2 separate regions of the Homo sapiens genome follow, and region 1 is linked to region 2. The links are contacts of gene promoters, found by promoter capture Hi-C in blood cells and fetal thymus (Javierre and others, 2016). All regions are on one chromosome and are shown on one strand. The core of a region is centred on a gene start or on the middle of the fragment in contact, and the rest is flanking DNA. Distances in the headings are between cores, read along the strand shown.

Region 1 (7,104 bases), core at 2,046-4,545, 2.9 Mb after region 2:
TTAGCTATTTCTAGACTGTTTCCCTTAATGTCTAGTTCTGTATATAGGCATACCTCATTTAGCATGCTGACTCATTAGCCAGACAATTGAATGACAAACTTGTTGGCCAGGAAAGCACTGCCTTTTCCTTAGTTCAAGTCATGCCGGTCTTTCTAGGTGGGAAGCAGACTTCAGAGAAGAAATCAGGACTTGGATAGGCATCTCAAATGTTTTTTGTGGATATGACTGGAAGAAAACATCCAATTAATTTTCAAAACATTTTCAGCCCTCCCTCAAAATATATATAAAACCCACTGTATTGAGATGTACTAGTCATCTAAATATGTTATACATATCCTATTTAAAACTGGATTTTTTAATCAGCCTGATTGCCTTGGCTTCTGATACCTTTTGGTCTAATTCTTAACTCACAAGTCAGAAGCATTCAATGAAATACTGGTTATTTAAATTTAAATACTATACTTAAAAATAGGTTATTCTAAATCCTTGTATAGCCACATGATTGAGTAGTATGTACCTGTAAAAATCCATGAGGTATATTTCTGTTTAACGCTACAGAGTGGTCTTATTAAGTAAAAACAAAATGGAGAAGGTATATATATATATGTGTGTGTGTGTGTGTGTGTATGTATCATATTTAAGAAAGGGAATATAAAAGTGCGTGTGTGTGTGTAGTTAAAAAAAAGAAACAATGGACCCATAACCAAAACTTTAAAAAATGGTTACTTATGGTGGAGGCAGGAGGAGAGGAACCAGATGGAAAGGACCAGGATGGAAGCTAGATTTCTCAGAATATATCTTGAATTTTCAACATTTGACTTTGGTACATATGTTATTCTAAAACGAGATTTAAGCAAAGTTAAGAAAAGCCCTACAAGTCCAAAGCAAAATGAAACAGACGACCTGCATTGCATATCAAGTTGATGGCTTGAATACACAGGTATGTTTCAGTTATCTTTAAAGCATAGTAATTTGTATGTCCATTCTTAATGGGATATATCCAAGGGCAAAAAGAAATGTGAAGAAATCTTAAACTCTTCAGTAATTAAATTGTTAATCATAACTATGTTAATATAATTAGAAATGAGGATTTTTAGTGTATGAGAAAAGATACATACAAAATCAAAGAGTAAAAACAATCTGTAATCCTAAATTTGAATGGGAAATAACACGAAGTTATGTTTTCTCTATATAAAAGACACTAGAAAGGCCTGGAAACCATGTTCAAATACCATTCCCGTCAAAATGAGCCAGAGTTTTCTGGAAATATAGCTAATTCTGGCTTGAGCAGGACAATCAAATGACTGACGGAAAATTTTTCTTTAATTCAGCTAATAAAAGGAATTATAGAACTAGAATACTAACATTTTATAACTTGTAAGCAAATAATATTCATTGATAAATGCTCTATCTTTGAGGTGAAAAACTTACAGGAAATTTGAATGGATCAGCCCAGTGAAACCACTGATCACTCCGAACATTAGAAAATGAGAATGACTTGTAGCTTTCAGTCTCAGTATATAATACCATTTACGAATGTGTTAAAGACACTATTGAGATGCCATTAATAGTGTGCAGGCCGTGTTCAGTGGGTCACACTTGTAATCCTAGCACTTTGGAAGGCCACAGCAGGAGGATCACTTGAGCCTGGGAGGTCGAGACCAGCCTGGAAAACATGGTGAAACTCCATCTCTACTAACAAAAAAAAAAAAAAAAGAAGAAGAAGAATATAGAAAAAAGAAAGTCCAGAGTGGTCCAGAAAGACCAACCTGCTTTCTTTAACAAATATCAAGGGAAAATAAAGGAGGGGGAGCTATACAATGAAACTTAAGCTTTAAGAGTATCCGTAATGTGTGACCCTTGTTGGGCTATGATTCAAACAAATCAAATGTGAAAAATTATTTTCAAAGCAGATGGGGAAGTTAAACACTGACTCGGTATTTGGTGATTTTAATGAATTAAAATTGCTTAGGTACAGTGGTCTGTTTCTTAAAATCTGTTTTTTTTAGGGACGGATACTGAGATATTTACAGATGATAGGTCTGGGATTTGTTTCAAAAGGATCCAGAATTGGGGGTGTAGTATTAGGTGAGTATAGCAACAGCACAAGATTAACCAGGTGTTGGTAATGGAATCTTGGATACTGGGCACACAGGAGCATATTATTCACTCTCCTTTTATAAATGTTCAAAATTTTCCGTAATAAAGTTTTTCTCATTCATTTAACAGATATCATTTTAATACTTTATACTTGAACTGATTTTTTTTCTTGCTCTAGTTCGTTTTTTGCTCTCAAAGTAAATCGTGTCCTAGAAAGTGATGAGAAATGCCATATGGTTAATCCGTGGTCCTTGTCCAGATTGCCTCCCAAAAACGAGGCTGCAATTTTATTGGTTATTGGCCCCTACCAACAACATGCAAATAATAAAATGTAATGAAACTTAAACTTGTATGTTACAGAGCCTTGCAGAACCTTAGTTATCAGGCTTTCTTGGATTCTGTTGACATTTAGATCCTCAGAGATTTACTTTTTGAATGTATACATACCCAGTTCTATGTAACAGATTAACTTGTAATACGTTCTCTTAAAGCACTTTTAAAGTAAGCCCAAAGTAAGTAGAATGGGCATCTGGTTTGAGAATTAAAAAACTCACTAGTGGGATTTCAACACCACCACATCTGGGTTCTTCTAGCCGTTTTTTGCCGCCCTTGCAAATTTTAAATGTGCTTATATTTTTGCATAGTGGGTCCAGACTTCTCATTTTGGCAAAAGGTTCTTTGTAATTGGCCCGCTGACTGCCTCTCTAGTCTGTTTTTGCTGATACTCAAGAAAATAAATGGTAACTTGGTGATTGAGGAAATAACACACACAAAAAACACCCCATACGTAGTATGGTAGTGCTGAAAAGGAAGCAAGTGGTTATTAAGCCCAAGACAGTGGCAGAGGTCTATCGAACAAGCGGAGTCGCCTAGGACCAGGCATAGTGGAAATGATCCCGGAGAGAACATCTTGAATGAAGCCAGGAAGTCAGCGGGCCAGAGGTTGTACAGGGGCTCTGCGGTTGGCGTGGCTGAGGTTGAGGCCACAAGTTACTGGGGAAGTTAATTGTTGACAGGAGCTTCGTACTCGGCTCACAGCCACGCACAGTGGGCTTCCTCCCAGTACCCGCCCTTGCCCCTGGGCCTAACCCTGCCCTGGAGGCGGACTCGCGGGAGAAGCGGGAGGCGGAACGCCCGAGGGCGCCCTCGGCTGGCGCGGAGCTGCGCAGGAGGCTGACGCGCTAGCGTGGCTCTAAGACGCGTCACCCACGCTGCGGGCAAGCCATGGCGGGAAGCGAGCCGCGCAGCGGAACAAACTCGCCGCCGCCGCCCTTCAGCGACTGGGGCCGCCTGGAGGCGGCCATCCTCAGCGGCTGGAAGACCTTCTGGCAGTCAGTGAGCAAGGAGAGGGTGGCGCGTACGACCTCACGGGAGGAGGTGGATGAGGCGGCCAGCACCCTGACGCGGCTGCCGGTGAGCGTCGGCCGCAGGCCGCGGAGGACAGTGGGGCCGGCCCGGGCCGGAGGGACCTCCCCTGGAGCCCCCCGGGGCCTGGGGAACTCTCGCGCCCCGGCCTGGGTCTGGCTCCGTCCATGCAGCCATTCCTGGCAGTGTAGTCACCGAGAAGCTACAGTTGATCAGAAGCGTCTTGGCGTGGACCCTGGTGCTCCGCAGGGGGCCCGAACATCTCAGGGAAGCACCTTCATGGGGCCCCTGGGGACCCTCCCGATCGCCCTCAGGTTTTCCACCCGCCAAAACAGGCACATGTGACTAGGACACCCTGAATGTCCGGTTACGGAAATGAGACAGTTCCCAACTTGCTGATTAGCTTGGGAAAGCATTCCAGCGTCCCTGTTCCCAGCGTCTTTGATTCCGGATCACTGTACCAAAACACTTGGAGGGCCAAGGTTTTTACCCTCTCAAGAGGACATTGTGCCTGTGGCTGTTATTGTGTATTTGAAGAAACAAAACGGCCCCTCAGTTGAAAATAAATGACTTAAGTTACAAGTGCCTCAAGTTACATCAAGGCCACGAGAATGACACACATAACTTATTGTTAAACTTTGGGGTAGATAGGTAAATGAAGAGAACAAAAATTATTGAAAATTATTACAATTCTTTGTCTCATTTGGACTATTGACACCTCTCTCCAATGTGTATATCAACGTGAAAGCTGCAGGTTTAGAATGCCTCCAAGTTTCTCCTTGCAGAGGTTTTTCATAACATTTTAATAGATTCTGTAGAGGAACTAAGATGACAAATTTACGGCCGGGCGCGGTGGCTCACGCCTGTAATCCCAGCACTTTGGGAGACCCAGGTGGGCGGATCACGAGGTCAGGAGATCAAGACCATCCTGGCTAACACGGTGAAACCCCGTCTCTACTAAAAATATAAAAAATTAGCCGGGCTTGGTGGCAGGCGCCTGTAGTCCCAGCTACTTGGGAGGCTGAGGCAGGAGCATGGCGTGAACCTGGGAGACGGAGCTTGCAGTGAGCCGAGATCTTGCCACTGCACTCCAGCCTGGGCGACAGAGCGAGACTGTGTCTCAAAAAAGAAAAAGACAAATGTACACTCTTTGATTTGGTCTGATGATAAAATCAGATAAAGGTTGATATGGGTTTTATTTTGAAGGACAAATTATTTCCTTAACTAATTTATGTAACTAACTGGTATATCCAAATATCTCTGAGGAAAAATTAAAGGAACTGGTGATTTTGCTGGAAAAATAGCAAGACAGTGGTTGCTTTTTCAGGAATGTTTCAGGTGTTTCAGAAATTAAATGTTTAACAACTACGAAACTAAAATGTTCAGTTATGATCCTTTGCTGATAGCAGGAAAATAATAGATTTAATTATTAATGGTAGATTTAGTTATTAAAAATACTAGTCAGTTGACCTTTTGTTATTTATTTGTTGATTATGTGGTTTATCACCCAAAAACTATTTTCTTCATTCCTTTTTCCTACCTGCTGCTTTCTTCTGTTTCAGATTGATGTACAGCTATATATTTTGTCCTTTCTTTCACCTCATGATCTGTGTCAGTTGGGAAGTACAAATCATTATTGGAATGAAACTGTAAGAGATCCAATTCTGTGGAGATACTTTTTGTTGAGGGATCTTCCTTCTTGGTCTTCTGTTGACTGGAAGTCTCTTCCAGATCTAGAAATCTTAAAAAAGCCTATATCTGAGGTCACTGATGGTGCATTTTTTGACTACATGGCAGTGTAAGTATCTAGTTTTATGAATTAAAAAGAAGCTATTAAATTTTCCTGTATTACTAGTCAATATCCAAGTTAATCCTGACCCTGCTACTGATTTGTTGCGTGGATTTGGGGTCTAATTGTTCTCGTCAAAACTGGGAGTTAAATGACTTCCTTCATAGGACCCTTTCAGCTTTAATATTTTATTATTTCCCTGTGGTGCCTAACCAGTATTTGAATAATTATAAGTAGTATAGATGGCAAGAAGTAAAAGACTTCTTAAAAGTCTCATGATCTTTAGAACAATTGTCATTTTGTTAAATAAGTAAATACTTTTCCGTATTCAGAAAAAGGATGATCAGAGACCCCTGTTGTTTGGCAGGGAAGAAGAAAACCATTCTAAAGGCTCTGAGAAATAAGATTATATTAGCACCGAAAAGCACTGACATTTTTTAATATTGCGTAGGTGAGATAATTAATGTTACTGAGCAACTGCAGTGTACTGGATTCTACGAGGGATGCTTTATGTATGTTTTACTCATTTAATCCTCATGCAACAAGAAGGTGTTATCTTTGTATCCCAGATGTGGAATTAAGGTTCATGGAGGTTATGTGATTTGCCTAAAGTCATATAGCTTGTAAGGGACTATTCAGACTGGAACCCCATTATGCTACCTCAAAGATATATAATGACATTATATATCTGGATATAGCTTGTTTTTCTGAGAAACTCAAATTTAACGCATTATTTTAAAAATTTCAAAATATTTATTCTTTAAAAATTGTTGTGCTTGACTCAGTAGCAAAATACAGAATTTTTTTTTCAAATTTTGAGTTATTCAGAGCCTTTCCTTATTCTAATACAGATGCCATTATGTCAAGTGTTGTGAGACTATTTGATTCAAAGGTGTGTTGTCTGTTATAGATAATCTCAGCAAGTGCTGCTGTATCTCACTTGCTAGGCAATACCTGTACAATAGCTAACCATTGCATCAAGTGTATATGAGGCTGTGGAATTAGATTTTGCCCAGGGAATAGTAATAATAGTAACTACCATTTATGGTCATATAAAGTACTTATCATTTTTACAACCCTGAGTTATTTCTTTCTTTTCTTTTTTTTTTTTTTGAGACGGAGTCTTGCTCTGTCGCCCAGGCTGGAGTGCAGTGGAGCGATCTCGGCTCACTGCAAGCTCCGCCTCCTGGGTTCACGCCATTCTCCTGCCTTATCCTCCCGAGTAGCTGGGACTAGAGGCACCCGCCACCACGCCTGGCTAATTTTTTGTATTTTTAGTAGAGACGGGGTTTCACCGTGTTACCCAGGATGGTCTTGATCTCCTGACCTCGTGATCCACCCACCTTGGCCTCCCAAAGTGCTGGGATTACAGGCGTGAGCCACTGCGCCCGGCCAACCCTGAGTTATTTCTGTTGCTCAAATAATACAGATGAAGAAACTGAAATTCAGACTGTAAGTGGCTCATATAACTAAAAGTAGTGAGGCTTGGTCAGGTCTATCCAGCTTCAAAGTTGTTTTGTGTTTGTTTTTTCCCCTTCATGAGTTACAAGGTTTCTAATAAAAGGATTTTGTTAGGTTAGTGATTTTGTTAACCAGCTTGACTTATTTGAAGGACTTTAGGTTTTATTTTGATTTGGGCAACTTTTAATTTTTGATAAAATGCATAATTGGTACTTTAGAGATTTATAGCTATTGCAAGAAACGGAATTGTTTTACATCATTCTTAGTTTGCTAGGTTTGCTGCAAGGATCATTTGAGCCTCCCTCATTTAACTCTTACTAAACTGTTATATTTGAGGCTATTAATAGAAGTACCCAAGACATTTGAAATTTGGTTATATTGGTAGTGTT
Region 2 (6,420 bases), core at 784-3,283:
CTCTTCCACAACTCAACATTTTTGACACCAAGCAGAGAAACCACTATATATAGGAGCTCGACGAACTCAATTTAAAATACAACTATATATTTCCAGCACCACATCTGAGCAGGTTTTTAATGCACAAGTTAAACTCAAGTTTATTAAGGGCTCCCTTCACCTTCATCTAAAACACATATGCCTGTATATAAATTAAATCACTCACTAATTACATCTTTTACAGACCTGAAATTGTAGAAGTTATCCTTGTTAGGAAGTTTTCTAGTGAATCTATTTTATATAGATTTTTCACATGTGTGTTATAGTCAAGTTTCCAAACAGTTGCACAGAAGTCAAAAGCTTTACATCTTTCTATACTAATTCTCAAAACCGATCTGCTGAAAAAAATGGTGGAAATTAGTGCATTGATAATCTAATTAGTAGCCATTTTCAGGATTTAAGCTCTACTATATTGTATTATATTTTAGAAACTGTCTTGTAAAAGGACCTAGTTCACCCAAAACTAAGTCCCTGAACTTTCAGAATAAAATATTAAGTTATAAAAATGTACTCTTGTAGCTAAGTGAAAGCTGACCATTCAGTTTATAAAACAGTAATCTTACATCGTGATAAGCAAAATAAAACAAATTAGAAAATGCACTATGCTTTCACTCTAGCCGTTGTCAACAAGGAGCCCAGCTTTAACAAATTACTGTAGATAACAGTCATTACGTCAGGTACGACATAGGGTAAAAAACTGATCTCATACAGAATGTCTACAACAAGTTTTTTTGTTTACTTCCTAAGGTGTTTTATAGACCTCAGAAACTGATTCTGTACAGCTGAACCGGGTTACACTCCAAGCTACAGCCCGTGTGAAATATGACTTCGTCGGAATCAGTAGGCTCAATCCTGTTTACCGTGGAAGAGAAAAGAATCTTGTACGTAACTACTAAATCTTCAACGAGATAATGTCGAATAAACTCTAGTACTGTAAGTGATAGAGGAAACACTGGCTAGTAACGGGATTAGGTCATTAAAAATATCACCCGAGTTTCCCCAGTTCGGAAGGTGTAAACAAACCCATCTCCACTGCAGAAGGTAAACAATGAACCTGCAGCAGGGTGAGGGGGCGGTCTTTAGCCAACTACAGTCCCAGCGGCCCGGGAAAGGGAAGCAGAAGGGAAACAGCATAAACCAGACATTTAGCAGTAATGACCAGTTCTAGGTTTCACTACCAAGTTATCAATGCTGCGGGTCCCCACAGGACGGTGGGCAAAGGGGAAAGCAGTCACGCAGTCGGCAAGCACCGAGCAGGTCCGGCTTCTGCTCCGGGGACGGGGAGGGCAGGATGTGGTCGCTCTTCCCTCAAACATCCTCCTGCAACCTAAATAACAGCCTCTACCTCCCTCCAGCTGCCCCTAGCTTGGGCTGCCGGACTCCGGGATAGGTGCAAACCACTCTGCCGGAGCTCGAGCCCAGAGGGTCGCCGGGTCTGCCGAGTTCCACTCGGGGCTCCCCCGCACCCGCAGCAGCCCGAGGCCCGGAGAAGGGCTCGGGCGAGGGAAGCGGGCGCTGGGTAGGGGGATGGGTCCGGCGAGGCGGCCCCGGGCTCGGTTCCCGCGGGCCGGCAGGCGGGGCTCCGGCTCTGGCCCCCGCACCCCGCCGGTCCCGTGCGGGGCCCGCCCCTGCCTCTGGCCCCCAGCCCCGGACCCGGCTCCTCCCCAGCAGCGCGCCCTCGCGGCGCCCGCGGCGCCCCGCGTTACCTCGGGTCAGATCCAGCGGGACGTTCTCCTCGCCGCTGTCATTCCGCCCTGCGCGAAACAGACACACAGCCCCAATTAGGATTGGCTCGCAGGCCAGCTGCGGCTGCCCTGGCTCCGGCCAGCGCCCCGGCTCGCTCCCCAACCCAGGGCCAGGGGAAGGCAAGTGCCAGGGGTGGCGGGCGCCGGGCGGTGGGGAGTGAGGGTTGCAGCGGGCTTACCTCGTACTCGGAGGTTCTTCAGAGAGCGGCCGCGGCCGATCGCCGCCATATTGACGGGTTTCAGTCACAACACCGGAAACCTCGCCCAATCGCGCGAGAACCCCTTCCCCTCCCCGCGCGCCGCGCCCGCCCCCCGCGGCACCTCCCCCGCCCCCTCGGCGGCGACGGCGGCGGGTGGTGCAGGCTCGGCCCCAGCGCTGAGGGAGCACTGAGCCGACCCAAGGTCTGCAAGGAGTTCGCGGCACCCGCCCGCCCACGCCGGACCCGGAGGGCACGTCCGCCGGGAGGGGCAGTTCCCACGAGGAAAGTCCCATTGATGCGAGTTGGCAGTGTAGAGGATGCTCCCCTCCGGCCGCCGCGGAAGCCGTCGTCCAAATGCAGGCGAGCGGGGAGGAGGAGGCCGGGATGCGGCCGGCGGGCCACCTGCTCTCGCCGGCCTGCCAGTCTCCTGCTTGCTCTGAAGCCCTGCCATAGACGGCCCCGCTCCCCCGTGTATCCACTGAAACATTTTTTTATAAAAACGCTGCGCACAGTTTTAGACTCCTTTCCTGGAATCGCTTTGCTCCAACTAAGTTAACACGTAACAAAGTTTGTTTTCCAGCCTCGCCCTTGATCTTCAGAATGCCCCTCTCGGCTAGGAGGGCTTCTCCAAGTGGAAGTGGTTAGGCAGTTTTGTTTTTGGCCGCCAGGCGTAGGACGCGAGAAGGGGGTGCAGCGGCCGGGGACCAGGGCGGCGGTCCCCGCGGTGGGATCGCGCCAGCGCCGGGAGGCCGGGGAGAGGGTGTTCTCTGCCGGGAGCCGAGGCGAGGCTGCTGGGTACTGTGTCCGGCTTTTATGGCTCTGCAGCTCCTAGGATCGTGGCTCATGCAGGTGTTGTGGATTAATCTATTTTATGCATAAGCCTATTAACATTAGGGATTTTAATTCTAGAAACTGCTTAGTTAATACGTATGTGTACACACACACACACACACACACACACACACACACACACACACACACACACACACACACACACACACACCTGGCCACTGACCCAGCAGCTTTCTCTTGAACTACATTTACTTTAAAGAGAGGAGCGATTTGTCCTCTCCAGTTCCTCAGCTCATCTTTCTATTCCATGAGACTGAAAGTTAATTAAAAGTGGAGATCTAGCCTTAACCAGTTCTGTTTTCCCAGCTCCCAGTTAATGCAATATCTGGCACAAATAAGTATTCAATAAATATCTGTTGGATGAGTAAGTGCCCTGGATTTCTAATTTATTCCAATTCTCTGCTTACTTTAAAAAAGAAAAAAAAAGCAATATTGGGGATATTTGTTGAAGTTGTTAATAAGAGTGAACATTTGGAAACACTTAAATGACCAAAGGTAGGGATTATGTAAATTATGTCAACGATTAAAAGTGAAGAGGTAGACTTAGTAATAGGAAATAATGTTCATGATATTAAATCAAGCAAAATATTACAAATTTCCTGTTTTATAATAAAAGTTTAAATATGTACGAAATTAAAAATATACATTATAAAATATTTTATATGTACATGTATGTTGAAAAAAGTCTGAAAATATACATGAAAATGTTAGCTGATTTTCTCCCCTCATTTGTGGAATTACACGTGCACTTTTTTGTTCTTGTTTGCTTGTCTCTACTTTTTAAATATCCTATAGTTAATATATGTCATTTGTAAAATAAGTGGTAAGAAGAAAAATAAAAGGAACATAAAGTAGCATCATCTGGAAAATAAAATAGGAACACTGCTTCCTTAGAATATTGCCAATTATCTATATATTCCAGTTCTTTTTTTTTTTTTAAACCAAGTCTACAATCAGATATCTGCGGCTGATACTGCACTTAGATTTAAGGATGTAACACAATTACAGTACTTTAAAGAAATGTCTTCTGGCATTACCAGTAGTAGTTTTAATGTCAACAAGCGTGCTCCCTCCGTTATAGCTTTAAAAATCTTGGTGCAATTTATTTATTCTAGTTACTGCCTAAAACAAAAATCACAAAACTTGAGGTCTGGCAGAGGGTTGGATTTCAACCCTCCATGTATCACCACATTTCACCCTTAAAGAAAAGTAGAGATCTATCAGTAGAAATTATACCAGATTCTTACAGTTGTTCTGATTTTCAACAAATCTTTTATCATATTATAAAATCCCTCTATATTCTACATTAACTCCTTCCTAATACAATTTAACTTCATTTTCTCTCGGTGTTTTATGAAAGTTGAGTACAACTAATCTACTTTTAAGTTACTTGAGGTACATAAGTGCCTAAATCCAGTAGTATTTTAATCATTATAACTGTATGCTATTAAAGACAATTATTCAATTACTCTATTTCTTGCAGGAGAAAAAATTACATTCAATCTTTCATCGAAACTAGTTTTTTCTCTGTTACTATTTCAGTCGTTTGAGTGGTTAGGTTCTCCATATTTGCTCTTAGAGTGAATGGCAGGTCTGGTGAAAAGGAACAAGTTATTAGTGTTTGCAAGTGACACTCAACTAGGAAGCAGAAGTTTAGATAAATTTTAGTAAGGAATACATTTTATAATGTGTTTGCTTTTTAAACAGTAGCACTACTTTATTGTTTATAGTCAGATTGATACTTGTTAAAACCCCTAAATTTTCTTCTTTGATACTTGCCAATTGCTAGCTATTCCTCCTTTTGAAACTTCTTTTTCTTCCTTGCATCTTTTAGCCGACCCATATGACTTACTCATTTTGTTTACTTCTTACTACTTCTCCAATTTTTATTTTGATTCTAATCTGGTCATTGAGAATGTGACTTCCTCTTCTTAGTTTTCGTTTCCCAGCTAGGTTTCATTTGCTGTGTCAGTGACTGTTTTTTTTTTTCTGGTAGTATTAGTCATTGATAAAAAATGTTCTATAAGAAGATCGAGTCCAGGACCATACCTTTGGAAGATAACTGCTTAATTCTGAGGATACAATTACTCCATTCATAGTCACTCCCTTGGTTCTATTCTCTACCCTCCTGCATGCAGTTAATAATTCTAGTATATAACTAGAATTCTAGTAATAATTCTAGTATGTAAACCATATTTTATCGGTTTGGGATACAGTTGTAATACTGAACAGAAACAAAAGCCTTATCAAAATCTTAGTTCCCTTTAATCTCTCTGCCTTGGTACATAGGCCATTTGAAGATAAAGCAAGTAAAAAGCCACAAAATTTGGTCAGACTATTTCTTGGTAACTTCATAGTTAAACCGCACATTTGAGACATCTAAAGGCCATTTACACGACAAGCAATGAATTAAATTTAACAAATGTTACAATCCCATCCAGTGTTAATTATGTCTTGGTCACAGCAGAACAGAGCCCCTGAGTATTGTGTCTTTAAATTTTAATCTCTGTCCCAAAATCTCATATAAATTTCCTTTTAAATAATTCTTTAAAGAGACTCTCTATGACTAACAGTTTTAAATGAAGAATAAACCTATGTTTATGGAAGATGAAGATATGTTAAAAAATGAAATCTAGAAGGGTATGCAGTAAAATTTCAACAGTTATTATCTACAGATGGTAGAATTTGGAGTGATTTTTCTCTCCCGTTTTCTCATTTTACTTGTTCCCAAACAAATTTTTACTCATGAATTTTTTTAGGAAAACTATTTTAGAAAAATTTTGTTGGCTATTCTAAACCAAAATTATAAACAGTTGATTATAATAATGACTTACTTAACAGGTCATTATAAACAATCAAAATTATTTGTGCATCTGTTCATTAAAAAAAGAACTTTTGCACATACACTGCAATACATATATATTCACTTTTTAAATTAAATTAGAACTTAAAACATAAACACAAAATAAAAATGGTTAAAAGTAATTTTTAATGTTATTTTACTAATGACACGAATACAAAGCAATGGGGCTGAATATACTTCATTATTCTCGACATTTCTTGTTATATACTTTGTGATACTGAAATTTAAAAGTCTAGTTCTAAGAAGAGTTTATGTGGGTATAGGGTTTTAATAGCTGAGACCTCACAAAATGCAAAGTTAAAAATGGAAGAACTACTGTATTGGCCGCATTTCTAAACCATAAAACTCATTTTCCCATTTCGTCCACCCAGTGATACAAAAGCTTTTTGAAATGTAATTTGGCTAACAAATATCCATCTTCCCTAATGTCAATCAGTTTTCCTATCAAACTAGTAATTTGGCTAACAAATATTCATCTTGCCTAATGTCAATCAGTTTTCCTATCAAACTAGAAGACATAACATTTAGAAATTTTCAGCAAAATGGTTGCAAAACCATTTATCTGAAAGATTTTGAAGCAGATTGGGAAACTCTGTTCCCATGATTTTCAAGTGTGCAGATATGAAAATTTATATATGTGACACATTTATATTTTAAGTTTTTTCAGAAAAAAATCACAAAACTGAAACACTTTCAAATATCTGTTTTCTAAATGCTCTCA

The links. Contacts are between HindIII fragments. The CHiCAGO score rates a contact against its expected background, and 5 or more counts as called.
Region 1: a contact is called between the fragment with the promoter of FBXO4 here and the fragment with the promoter of RICTOR in region 2, in 1 of 17 cell types (total B cells). The highest score is 5.5, in total B cells.

What each region holds. Positions count from the first base shown.
Region 1 is chr5:41,921,986-41,929,089 of GRCh38, forward strand. FBXO4 (F-box protein 4) reads left to right here and starts at 3,296. Exons shown (of 7, transcript NM_012176.3): 1 at 3,296-3,513; 2 at 5,028-5,263. The coding sequence starts at 3,325. RefSeq lists a silencer at 3,554-3,733. The HindIII fragment of the contact is 6,278 bases long and covers 1,831-7,104 here.
Region 2 is chr5:39,072,366-39,078,785 of GRCh38, forward strand. RICTOR (RPTOR independent companion of MTOR complex 2) reads right to left here and starts at 2,034. Exons shown (of 38, transcript NM_152756.5): 1 at 1,964-2,034; 2 at 1,746-1,793. The coding sequence starts at 2,012. RefSeq lists enhancers at 867-1,393, 1,920-2,446, 4,783-4,882 and a silencer at 1,332-2,231. The HindIII fragment of the contact is 5,742 bases long and covers 338-6,079 here.